Regions from separate parts of the Homo sapiens genome. Here regions 1 and 2 are each linked to region 3. Evidence: promoter capture Hi-C in human tissues and cell types (Jung and others, 2019). All regions are on one chromosome and are shown on one strand. Each heading gives the region's core, a stretch centred on a gene start or on the middle of the fragment in contact. The rest is flanking DNA. Distances are from core to core; before and after follow the strand shown.

Region 1 (3,863 bases), core at 1,145-3,644, 47 kb before region 3:
CTGAGGCTCAGACAGTGACATAACTTTCCAGGTCATGTGTTTGAGAATTGGTTAGGCAGGGACTCAGGTCTGGAACTGGACTGCAAGATCCAAGTTCCTATTCACTGTCCTACTGCCTCCCAGTTAAGTGAGACAATGGCAGCCATGTGCTTGGTATAGTGTAGAATAGAGAATAAGCACTTAGGTGAGAGTCATTGTTTCTGGGATGTGGACAGGTGTGGATTTCTGGGTGAGAACCTCTAAGACAACTGGCAGAGGAGTTCCATGTGGCTTTAGGCCCTCAGTTTGAATTTCTGTGCTTTGGTGTGCACCAAAAAAGAGAGGCATTCACTGCTAGTTTCAGGTGATGCTGGTTTAGGAATTTGTACTTAAGTTCTCTGTTCTCAGTAAATGACGGAAAAAAAAGCTTAAGTGTCCCACCTTGTTTCCCTTCATCTGGAGCAAGGACTTTTGCCCTTCCACCCTTAGTCAGCAAGGAGCTGGGCAGAGGTGGGAGAAATGCAGCCCCAGAGCTGGCCTACTCACACTGCTTAGCAGCTTTCCTCAGCAGCTTTCCTAACAGACTTCTTCTTGCCCCCCAGATAAGACGTTATCTGTGGCAATCGAAGGCAGTGTGGATGAAGCCAAGGCTCTGTTCAAACCTCCAGAGGACTCCCAAGGTAATGTGGTGGTTGGGATTCGTCCCCCAGGGACACCAGGTCACCATCCAAGGGCAGTCCTGGTCTTTGGAGAACTAGCTGGACTAGTTCTGTGTAGCAGGAAGCTTGACTTGAATGTCTTAGCACCCTGGAGTAGACAGGAAAGAGAGCTCACTTCCCGGAGTCACAAGGTGCGGCCCGTGGATTTCAGCCCTGCCACTCACTAGCTGACTGACCCCGAGGAAGGTATTTAATATTTCAGAGCCTCAGTTTATTCCTTTGTGAAAACAGATAGTAACACCTCATGTAGGATTGTTATGTGGATTAAATAAGGTAATGCACATACAGCCTTTAGCATAATTCTCAGCACATAGTACCCCCTCAAGTTATGCATGCTTCTACTACTATTATTATTATTTGTGTTACTATTATTACCACAGCCACCACCACCATCACAAGGAGGGGCTTGTGTTCCATCTAAATGACATCAAAAAGCCCTTTGAAAAAAATGAGTTATACGTCATTCTTCTTTTTTCTTTTTTCATCACCATGTTTTGTATACTGAATAAGAAGCAGCAAGTTAATTTATTATTTATTACAGAGAAACTTATTTACAAAAGACAGAGTCAGGGCCCCTTTATGCCATGTGGGTTGGAGTGCTTTAGGGAGCATTTGGAGCCCCCTCACCTCTAGCTGCCTTCTCTCTGTGGCTGCAGATGACGAGAGTGACTCAGATGCCGAGGAGGAGCAGACTACGGTGAGAACCATTTCCTCTTGTGGGGGCATCAAGCAGCTGCATGCACTGGGGCATGCTTGTTCGCAGGTGCCGTCCTCCCTAGAAGCAGAAGAGGTGTGAAAGAAGGTGCTGCTGGGAGGGGAGTCTGACAACCCAGCTAGCTGAAGCAGCAGGTGCCAGGCAGTAGGGCTGAGGCCTGGCTGGTTGGGAGAGGGAAGGGGAGATTGCTATGACTGATGCTCATCAGCTTGGCACTTTCCTTTGTCCAGAAGCGCCGGAGACCCACACTGGGGGTTCAGTTGGACGACAAACGCAAGGAGATGCTGAAGAGGCACCCACTGTCTGTCATGCTCGACCTGAAGTGCAAAGGTCTGGTTGCACTCACCTTGTTTAAGGGATCTGTAGCACCTAAGAGTTCACCCAGCTGCAGGTGCAGAGGGTCCGGGAGCCAAACACCCATTTGCCCAACAAAGGATTCCCATTTCATATTGCTTTGTTTTTCCTTATTGTTTTGCATGGACTTTGTTTCTTTTTGTTAAATCATAACCGTAACAACATAGCAACAAAACTCCAGTCACATAAGGCAGAAGCTTGAGAAAACTATACCTCTTTCTGAATCTAGCAAGTCAAATATCTAGAACAAGTTGCAAAAGTATACAGGTTTTTAGTAAGACCAACATGTTTAATAAATGTAAGTAGAACTTTGTATTCTGCAGAGTATATGTTTTGAAGTTGGTTTGTATGAAAAAGTACCATATAATAAAATGTTCTAGCAGTAGAAGAGCTAACAGTAAAATTTAAGTTTCCCTCTCACCACAGGTTCCTATATACCAGTCCTAGGTCTCACCTCCAAGGGCAACCATTATTACAGACTTCTTATGTATTTTTTAGAAAGATTCTTTGCACCTGGAAGCTTTTATACAAATGTATATTTATCTGCTTCCCACTTTATTTTTTACACAAATGGAAATAGGCTCTACGCACTGGTTTTCTTTTTGCTGGTTGTTTGTTTGTTTGTTTGTTTTTAGAGATAGGGTCTCACTCTCGTCATCCAGGCTGGAGTACAGTGGCATGATCACGGCTCACTGCAACTTCAACCTCCTGGGCTCAATCGATCTTCCCACATCAGCCTCCCAAGTAGCGGGGGCTACAGGCATGTGCCATCATGCCAGTTAATTTTTGTATTTTTTGTAGAGATGGGGTTTTGTCATGTTGCCCAGGCTGGTCTTGAACCCCTGGGCTCAAACGATCCTCCTGCCTCAGCCTCCTAAGTAGCTAGGACTGGAAGCGTGCACCACCATGGCTGGCTTTGAGATAATTTTAGGCTCATAGAAGACTTGCCAAAATAACATGAGTTCCTATATACTCTTCATTCAGCTTCCCTAAAGTTACATCTTAATTAAAGATGGTATGATTAACAGCGATCCACACCACTCTTAATTTCATTGGCCCAATACTGTTAACAAAATGACAGAATTTTTTTAGTTTCTTCCTTTTTTAATTAATGTCCTTTTTCTGTCCCAAGATCCAAGCCAGGGTCTCAAAGTGCATTTAGTTGCCATGCTCCTTAGTCTGCTCTAGGCAGTGAGTGTCTCAGTCTTTCCTTGTGTTTCATGACCTTGATTAGACTGAGATTATGGATTTGGGGGAGAGAATAGCATAGATGAGGTCGTCGCTATCATGTCATATCAGGAGTACCTGATGCCACTGTATTATTTCTGCTGATATTGACCTTGATCGCTTGGTTCCCTTTCCATCTTGTATTTGTTAGAAGCAGAGTCACTAAGTCCAGCCCACTCTCAAGGGCAGAGAAATTAAGCCCTACCTCTTGGTGGGAAGCGTAGCAAAGAATTTGTAGATGCTCTCCTTGCTTCTTTTTGTTCATTATATTACTGTTGTGATTTTTTTTTTTCTTGAGACAGAGTCTCGCTCTGTTGCCCAGGCTGGAGTGCAGTGGCGTGATCTCTGCTCACTGCAAGCTCCACCTCCTGGGTTCACACCATTCTCCTGCCTCAGCCTCCCAAGTAGCTGGGACTACAGGTGCCCGCCACCACGCCCGACTGATTTTTTGTATTTTTAGTAGAGACGGGGTTTCACTGTGTTAGCCAGGATGGTCTCGATCTCCTGACTTCATGATCTGCCCACCTTGGCCTCCCAGAGTGCTGGGATTACAGGTGTGAGCCACCGCGCCTGGCCGATTTTGTTTTTATAGTAAATGATTGTAAAAGTCTCTGAATTTTTCTATAATTCTGTTTTTCTTTTTTTGTTATAATTTCAACTTTTATTTTCGATTCTGGGGATACATGTGCCGATTTGTTACACTATTTTGCGTGGTCCTGAGGTTTGGGGTATGAATGATCCCGTCACCTAGGTAGTGGGCATAATACCTAGTAGTTAGTTTTTCAACACTTGACCCCCCCACCTTACTACCCCCTATGACTCTGTTCACTCTGCTCTGAGTGTTTTGACTCATAAATTCTCTCATCTTC
Region 2 (3,705 bases), core at 54-2,553, 48 kb after region 3:
AACAATACTTTAAATAACATATTATAAGCTTGTATATCCAGAATTATTGTCACTTCCACATGGGGTACACCCATGTTTCAAGGGCCCCATAGCCACTGGTGGCTACCATATTGGGCAGCACAGGTCTAGGGTATGACTTAAATGTTATATTTTCTTCAAAATCTTCTGTTGTCTCTAATCTATACTCACAGCTGAGAACTGTTGTTGGGTGGGCATACACATTTTAGGTGCCAGAATTCAGCTAATGCCCCTATTTAATGGAGAGCCTTTTGAACAGTTGCTTTTTCCAAGGCTGTTGGTGGGCCGAGCGCAGGTTATACAGATTTCTGACCTTGAAACTTCCGCATCCTTGGGTTTTAATATAGAATTCTTCTCAGCTGGGGCTCCACTTCCTTGATTTTGGAAACCAGTTTTCCCAGCAGGAGATGGGGCGTGATGTCTTTTATAGTGACCACAGAGCAGATGGCGCACAATACATCATCCCCATTGGGCTCCTTTGGAAATGAACTGATACAGCGGAAGCAGCAGAGATATCCACACTCTAGGTATGTGGGTTTTTATTATTTTCTTTTTTCTTTTCCTTTTTTTTTTTTTTGAGACGGAGTCTTGCTCTGCTGCCCAGGCTGGAGTGCTGTGGTGCCATCTTGGCTCACTGCAGCCTTTGCCCCTGGGTTCAAGTGATTCTCCTGCCTCAGCCTCATGAGTAGCTGGGATTACAGGCACTGCCACAGCACCCGGCTAATTTTTGTATTTTTAGAAGAGACGGGGTTTCACCATCTTGGCCATGCTGGTCTTTAACTCCTGACCTCGAGATCCACCCACCTCAGACTCCCAAAGTGCTGGGATTACAGGCGTGAGCCAATGTGCCTGGCTAGTAAGTGGGTTTTTCAGGATAAGATAGGCAGCCGACACATCGACTTGCTTCTTTAAAATGTTCTGCCATGGCCAATGTCTGCAGAAACGGTACATGATATTGGAGTTCAATTAACTGAATGACAATACTCCTTTAGGCTCTTTCACTTTTACATGCATAGAGACATATCAGTGCCTGCTATAAACAATCACTAGTGATAGGTGATAAAAACACTATAAAATACATATAAGAAGAGTCATGGCCTTGAACTTCTAATATCGGAAATGCTAGTTGGAATGAAGGACATGATTCTTCAGTTGAGAAGCTGGTGTTGTGAAGGGTCTAGGCCCAGCGGTCCAGCCACATGTGGTTCTTGAGCACCCCAAATGGGGCTTATTGGAATTGGGATGTGCCTTTGTTGTAACCAAGCGAGTTATAGAGAAACGCCACACTTTGAGACTAATTCAGGAGTCCTTTATTAGCCGGCGACCGAGAGACGCTAACGCTCGGAATTCTCTCGGCCCTGAAGAAGGGGCTAGATTTTCTTTTATACTTTGGTTTAGAAAGGGGAGGGGGAATTGAGCTGAAGCAATCTTACAGAAGTAAAACAGGCAAAAAAGTTGAAAAGACAAATGGTTACAGGAAAACAAACAGTTCCAGGTGCAGGGGCTTTAAATTCATCACAGGGTGATAGGAGGGGGGCTCCAGACACAAATGCAGGGGGCTTTAGAGTACTGTCACCTGAGCAAATTCCTGGGAACTGTGGACATAGTTTGCCACAGTATCTTATCAGTTAATTGCACTCTTTGACGCGCTGAGAGTCAGCTTGCACAAGTTAAGTCCTTGAGGGAGGGAGTGGGTAAGGAGCCCTTAATGTCTTGCAAATGAAGGAGCCGAATGGAATCCATCCAGCTTTCTTAGCTAAGAGAGAGTCAATCAAGTTAATGTAAGTTAGCGTATCACACCTTCAGTGTAAAATGCGCACTGGATTTTGAAGAGGTATGAGAAAAAGAGAATGTAAGTTATCTTATTAAGAACTTTGGCCAGGTGTGGTGGTTCATGCCTGTAATCCCAGCACTTTGGGAGGCCGAGGTGGGTAGATCACGAGGTCAGGAGTTCAAGACCAGCCTGACCAACATGGTGAAACCCCATCTCTACTAAAAATACAAAAAAAATTAGCTGGGCTTGGTGGCGCACATCTGTAATCCCAGCTACTCAGGAGGCTGAGGCAGGAGAATCACTTGAATCGTCTCCGGGAGATGGAGGTTGCAGAGAGCTGAGATCGCACCACTGCACTCCAGCCTGGGCAACACAGTGAGACTCTATCTCAAAAAAAAAAAAAGAACTTTTAAAGATTGATTACACGCTGAAATAACTTTTTTGTATTAAAATTTACATTTTGTAATTTAATGTGGCTACTAGAAAACTTATCATTGCATATGTGGATTACATTATATTTCTACTGGACAGCTATGTACTAGACTCAGAGACCCTCCAACACCCCTATCCCCTGCAAAATCGTTCTAATCTGGCTGTGGCAAAAGCCCCTCCTAAGTAGCTGAAAGGTTGAATAGGTCAAAGAGAGAAACTCCATCATCATCTCATCGAGTTGGCCACACTATGATTAAGGAAAATGAAGACTGTCATTTCTCCAGACTGGGTACTGAAAATTTAAGTTCTGCTGTCTGCTTTTAGAAGGTGACCCAGGGTCTCTCTAAGTGCACACACTGTGCCTGGCATTGAGCTGCCCTCAAACAATGTTGCCGAATTCATAGTGACTCCATCCTGCAGCCCTTGCTCTCTAATACCTGCCCTTGGTAGGAATCTAGTAAGTCGAGAAAAACTACATAAGCCTGGATGTGTGTCTCCTCCATTAGGTTCTCCCCTGGCCTCCAGTAGCTTCCACCGACAGCTCAGTTTTGAGTGAGCTCCACTTACAAGGGGTTTTTATTACAAGAGCCTCTCCTCCCCTCTCATTTACATCCTGCTTATCTTCCTTAACCCAATCAGATTTTGATTTAATCATGCCGTAATTTTAACTGAGGTTGTAAACTGGTTACCCCAAGTAAAGATTATTTTAACTTAAGGGTTTTTAAAATTGATACAGACTAATATTGCCATCTCATTCTAAATTAGGCCATGTATATTATGGGTGTTGATAAGATTTGGGATTTCTGTAGCTATCTGCTTAGGAAAAATAAAAAGATTCAGGATTAGGGCTGAAACTGTTACAATGAAATATCTGGCATTAAGATTAATCTATGAATAGGGCTAGTTTCAAGTAGTTTTCTCATGAGAATAATATCTCCTCATGTTTTGATCAAAGAAATCTATCAAACTTACTAAGATGTTTTTTCTAAAATCACACTCATGTGACCATTTATTTAAAGGGACTTTTTCTCCAAGATCGTGAAAATGCACATTTAGAAGTTTGGTTTAAAAGAAACCCTAAAACTGTTCACATACAATCAAGCAGAGCCTTACAAGATCCTGTTTTTGTTGTTGTTTTGTTAGTTACAGTATTAATACTAAGATTTTTAAAAACTTTGATAATTTTACTGTTTCCATTACATCACAATATATATAAATATAAAAGTATACATATTTAAATGCGTATATATACATTTATAAACAAATGTATGGATACATTTGTTTAAATGCACACTGGATTTGAAAGGCTGAAAAAGAATTAAATTATCTCATTAAGATATTTGAGTGTCAGGCACCTGCAGTCCCAACTACTTGAGAGGCTGAGATGGGGTGATTGCTTGAGCTGTGGAGTTCATGCCCAGCCTGGGTATCATACTGAGACCACCCCACTGCCCCCCAAAAATCATCTTTGAAAACTGCAT
Region 3 (3,559 bases), core at 1,042-3,541:
TCCACCTAGCTGAGCATTGCCCCTGAGCATTGGTAGCCACACCCCGGCCCCCGCCAGCAACCCGCTCGTGGTTCCCAGGAAACCTTCCAGAGGCAGTGGAGGTCTGGAGACTGGTCTTTAGCTCGTAAAAGTGAACATCCTGAATCCCCAGATAGTGGCACTCAGGGCACAAGTCTTGGCGGGGAGGAAGGAAGCCAGCTGAGTGGGCCAGTACAATCCTGGGACGTCTGCCCCTACGACTGGCAAACCCAAAAGAGGTTTGCGCAGGGAGGGGCCTTGCTGCGGAGATGGAGGAGGGGATGGTTCTGCTCTGCAGAGGAGTGGAAAAGGAACAGAAAAAGCTATGCATCAAAATCCCAGCTTTCCCTGCTAGTGCTGGCAAAGACTTAGAAACCATCCAGGTGGTTGGAGATTCTCAACTATTGTCGATCACAGATGCTTTTGGAAAATCACTGAAGCCTCTGCCCTCTCTCTCAAAAACAACGCAAAGTTTTACAGACAGTTTCGTGAGACATCATGGAACTCCCCGGATTAAGCAGCCCAGTTGATCTACCCTCCTCTTTCAACTCAAAAAGAAATGAAAACCAGAGAGGGCAAGTGTTGGTCAAGGTCACCCTGCAGCTGCTGGGCACAGCCTCAGGGCAGCGCAATCTAGCTGACTCAGGGCTGCAAGGAGTTGGGGGAGGGGCAGACTTGGGAGGCTCCCAGCTTCCCTAAAGGAGAAAGGGGACATTAAAACATGAAAGGGCCCACCAGCCACCTCCGCCACAGGCAACAACTGACTGTAGTAATGGTTCCCTCTAGGAAGAAAGGATGCGAAAAGGTCCTGACCCACCCCCACGTGGAAGATTTAAGGTAGGAACGTTAAGCACTGAGCAGGTAGTGGGAAGGAGCCTGGTAGGGGTGAGAGGAATAGAGTTTCTTGCGGGGTGTAGGAGAGGGCATGGCAGCATTGGCGGGGAAGCCTTGCTACTTAGAAGGGCTAAGAGTCTCCAGCGCTTGCAGACCAGAATCCTGCACCACTTTTTTCCTGTAGAGGAAACTTGTTTTTTTCTTGACGGGGGAGGGATCTCAGAGTGGGGTCGCCTAAGCTTGGGGTAGAGAGCAGCAGGGGGCCCAGAGTTGAAGTACAGCCGTAAAGAACCTGGAAAGGGGGAACCGAAGGACAACCCAGAGTTGGGGCGTCCCACAAGAGACCCAGAGTAAAACTGCGATTTAACTAGGGGCATGCACTTTGCAGAGGGAAGGTGAGCAGCGCGCCACTCCACGCGCAGTCCGGCAGCGCCCCCTTGGGTCACGCAGCCCAAAAGTTCGCTGCGGGGTCAGCAGGGGCGCCCCTCCCCCCACCCGCGCGCCTGCGTACCTCGGAACCACTCCTCGGACTGCAGCGTGCTCTGCACCGCGTGGCCTTCAAGCTGCGCGCGAATCTCGCGCAGCGCCGACGTCACGTCGCACTTCAGGGCGTCGCGCGTCTCGGCCTGCATCTGCGCCTGCGCGGCGCCGGAGCCCTGGATCTGGCCGAGCAGCTCGCCCACCTCTTCCTGGTGGTGGCGCCGCAGGTAGCCGCACTCCTCCTGCAGCGCCTGCGCCTTCTTCTGCAGGTCCACGCGCGCCGCCTCGGCCTCCTGCGCGAAGCGCGCCAGCGCGCGGGCCGCCGCCTCGGCCTCCTCTCGCTGCCGGGCCTCGTCGTCTAGGCGCTGGCGCACGTGCGCGATGTCCTCGAGCAGGTGCTCCTGCTCCAGGCGTAGCTGACCGCGCGCCGCGCCCAGGCGCAGCACCGCGCCGCGCATCTCGCGGACCTCGCGCTCGTACAGCTCGCCCATAGCGGAGCGGCCCGCCTGCTGCTGCCGCAGCGCCGCAGCCTCGCCCTCCAGGCTGCGGTTGTGCGCCTCCAGCTGCCGCACCTTGTCGATGTACCCGGCGAAGCGGTCGTTCAGCGCCTGCAGCTGCTCCTTCTCACTGCGTGAGGTGGCCACCGCCACCATGCAGCCCTCCGGCCCGTTGCTCAGCGTGTCCAGCGAGTCGGTGCTTGAGGCGGCGCCTGCGCCACGGAAGCGGCTGGGCGAGGCGGACACGGAGCTCACGGACGTCCGTGTCCACGAGTGGAAGCCGCTGGAGGAGCCAGCGGCGGAGCGCGTCCCGCCTGCGCCACCCTTTCGGGCTAGCGCGTAGTGGAGGCTGCCGCCGCCATGCAGCGGCGCGAACGGGGCGCCCAGCAGCGCGTCCGCGCCGCCGAAGCTCATCATGGCCTGAGCAGGTGCGCGAGGCCGGGACGGGGCGGGAGGCACTGCGGCAGCACCAGGGCGCCGGCCCTTTTATAGCCGCCGCGGCCGGGTCCAACCCCTTGGCAGTGAGAGGGTGGGGAGGAGGGCCCCGCCCTCTCCGCCTCCTCCCCTGCGGCCCCCCGGCCGACCGGCTCCGCCGCAGTGAGAGGGGCGGGGCAGGGGACCGAGGAGGGAAGGGGAATCGACGCTGCGTCAGAGGAGACCCTCGAGGTCGGGGAAGCGGGCAGAGGACTCCCGGAGTGGGCCAGTGAGGACCCCCGGGTGCGCGTCGGAAGAGCCTGCGAGTGTGTTCGGAATAAGAAAGGGGACTTGAAACAGGGAGAGGACAAGGAGAAACCTGATGGGAATAGGGGCAGGATGCCCTCGGGATGGAGCAATGGAAGATTGCAGTCATTAGGATGAGGGGATCCCTGTATGAGACAGGACACGAGGCTTTCCAAATAGTTAAGAGAGGCTTTCAGGATAGGGGGTGCAGAGACTGTGCAGCCAGCCCCGGAACAGAGGAGGGAGCAAGGCAGTCCTGAATGGGAGCATGGACGCTCCATAGAACGGAGACAGGAGACCCCTGACCGGGGGAGGTACAGTGTTCTCCTAACATCTAGAGGACCCACTTGGAGAGCGCTCAGGAAACTCCGCGGCCAGCCCCGGAATAGATGAAGGGGGACCTGGAGTTGGGGAGAATAGCAAGGCTACCCTGAATGGGGGTATGGGAGACACTGCAGAGGATGGAGAGAGGGAACCCCGGATGGGTGGGGTTGGGGGGAGGCAAGGCGTTCTCTAAAAAGTCTGCAGTGGCCCCCGAGAGAGGAGATGGGAGACCCTGCTGCCAGCCCCAGTAAAGGGGACGGACCCTCAGCGAAGCGGGCAGAAGGTCCCCTGAACAGGCAGGAGAAAGCTGGGCTGAGTTTGAGGGGCAGAGAACCTACAGTGGGGGTACCGTAGGAGGGCTTGGGCATGAAGTTGAGAGAGCTGGCCCCTGTGTGGGGTGGGGGGAAATGATGGGTGTCACCCGAGCCAGCTTCTGCACACTGGGGTCAGCTAGGCAGTTTGCTGGTCGAATGACCTTGGACAAGCTGTGTCCTCCCACCCTTGTTTTTCCATCTGTACAACGAAGGGGTCTTGCCCCAGAGACAAGCTCCAACTCCTGACCCCCGACTGCCCCAGGAAGTTCCACTTTGAGGGGTCTCTGGCTGAACTGGGGATGGGGAACCCACATCTTGCCGTTCTGTCAACACTAGGAAGTCCTCTTTTCTCCCTCCCCCTCCCCATCTTCT

The links. The method cuts DNA at HindIII sites, captures the fragments that hold promoters and counts their contacts. A contact is called where the count stands out against the background at its distance.
Region 1: a fragment that was not itself captured here is called in contact with the fragment with the promoter of NEFH in region 3 in 5 of the 25 tissues and cell types used here (IMR-90 fibroblasts, dorsolateral prefrontal cortex, hippocampus and 2 more).
Region 2: a contact is called between a fragment that was not itself captured here and the fragment with the promoter of NEFH in region 3, in 12 of the 25 tissues and cell types used here (H1 embryonic stem cells, IMR-90 fibroblasts, bladder and 9 more).

The regions. Positions count from the first base shown.
Region 1 is chr22:29,525,958-29,529,820 of GRCh38, reverse strand. It overlaps THOC5 (THO complex subunit 5), which reads left to right. Exons shown (of 20, transcript NM_003678.5): 9 at 582-659; 10 at 1,355-1,395; 11 at 1,644-1,743. Among named protein-coding and RNA genes, the nearest start is that of THOC5, 26 kb to the left of the region's middle. The HindIII fragment of the contact is 3,617 bases long and covers 586-3,863 here.
Region 2 is chr22:29,430,181-29,433,885 of GRCh38, reverse strand. It overlaps a transcript of RFPL1 not described here and the pseudogene RFPL4AP6. Among named protein-coding and RNA genes, the nearest start is that of RFPL1, 6.6 kb to the left of the region's middle. The HindIII fragment of the contact is 7,578 bases long and covers 1-3,705 here.
Region 3 is chr22:29,478,950-29,482,508 of GRCh38, reverse strand. NEFH (neurofilament heavy chain) reads right to left here and starts at 2,291. Exons shown (of 4, transcript NM_021076.4): 1 at 1,364-2,291. The coding sequence starts at 2,246. RefSeq lists an enhancer at 415-1,269. The HindIII fragment of the contact is 10,845 bases long and covers 1-3,559 here.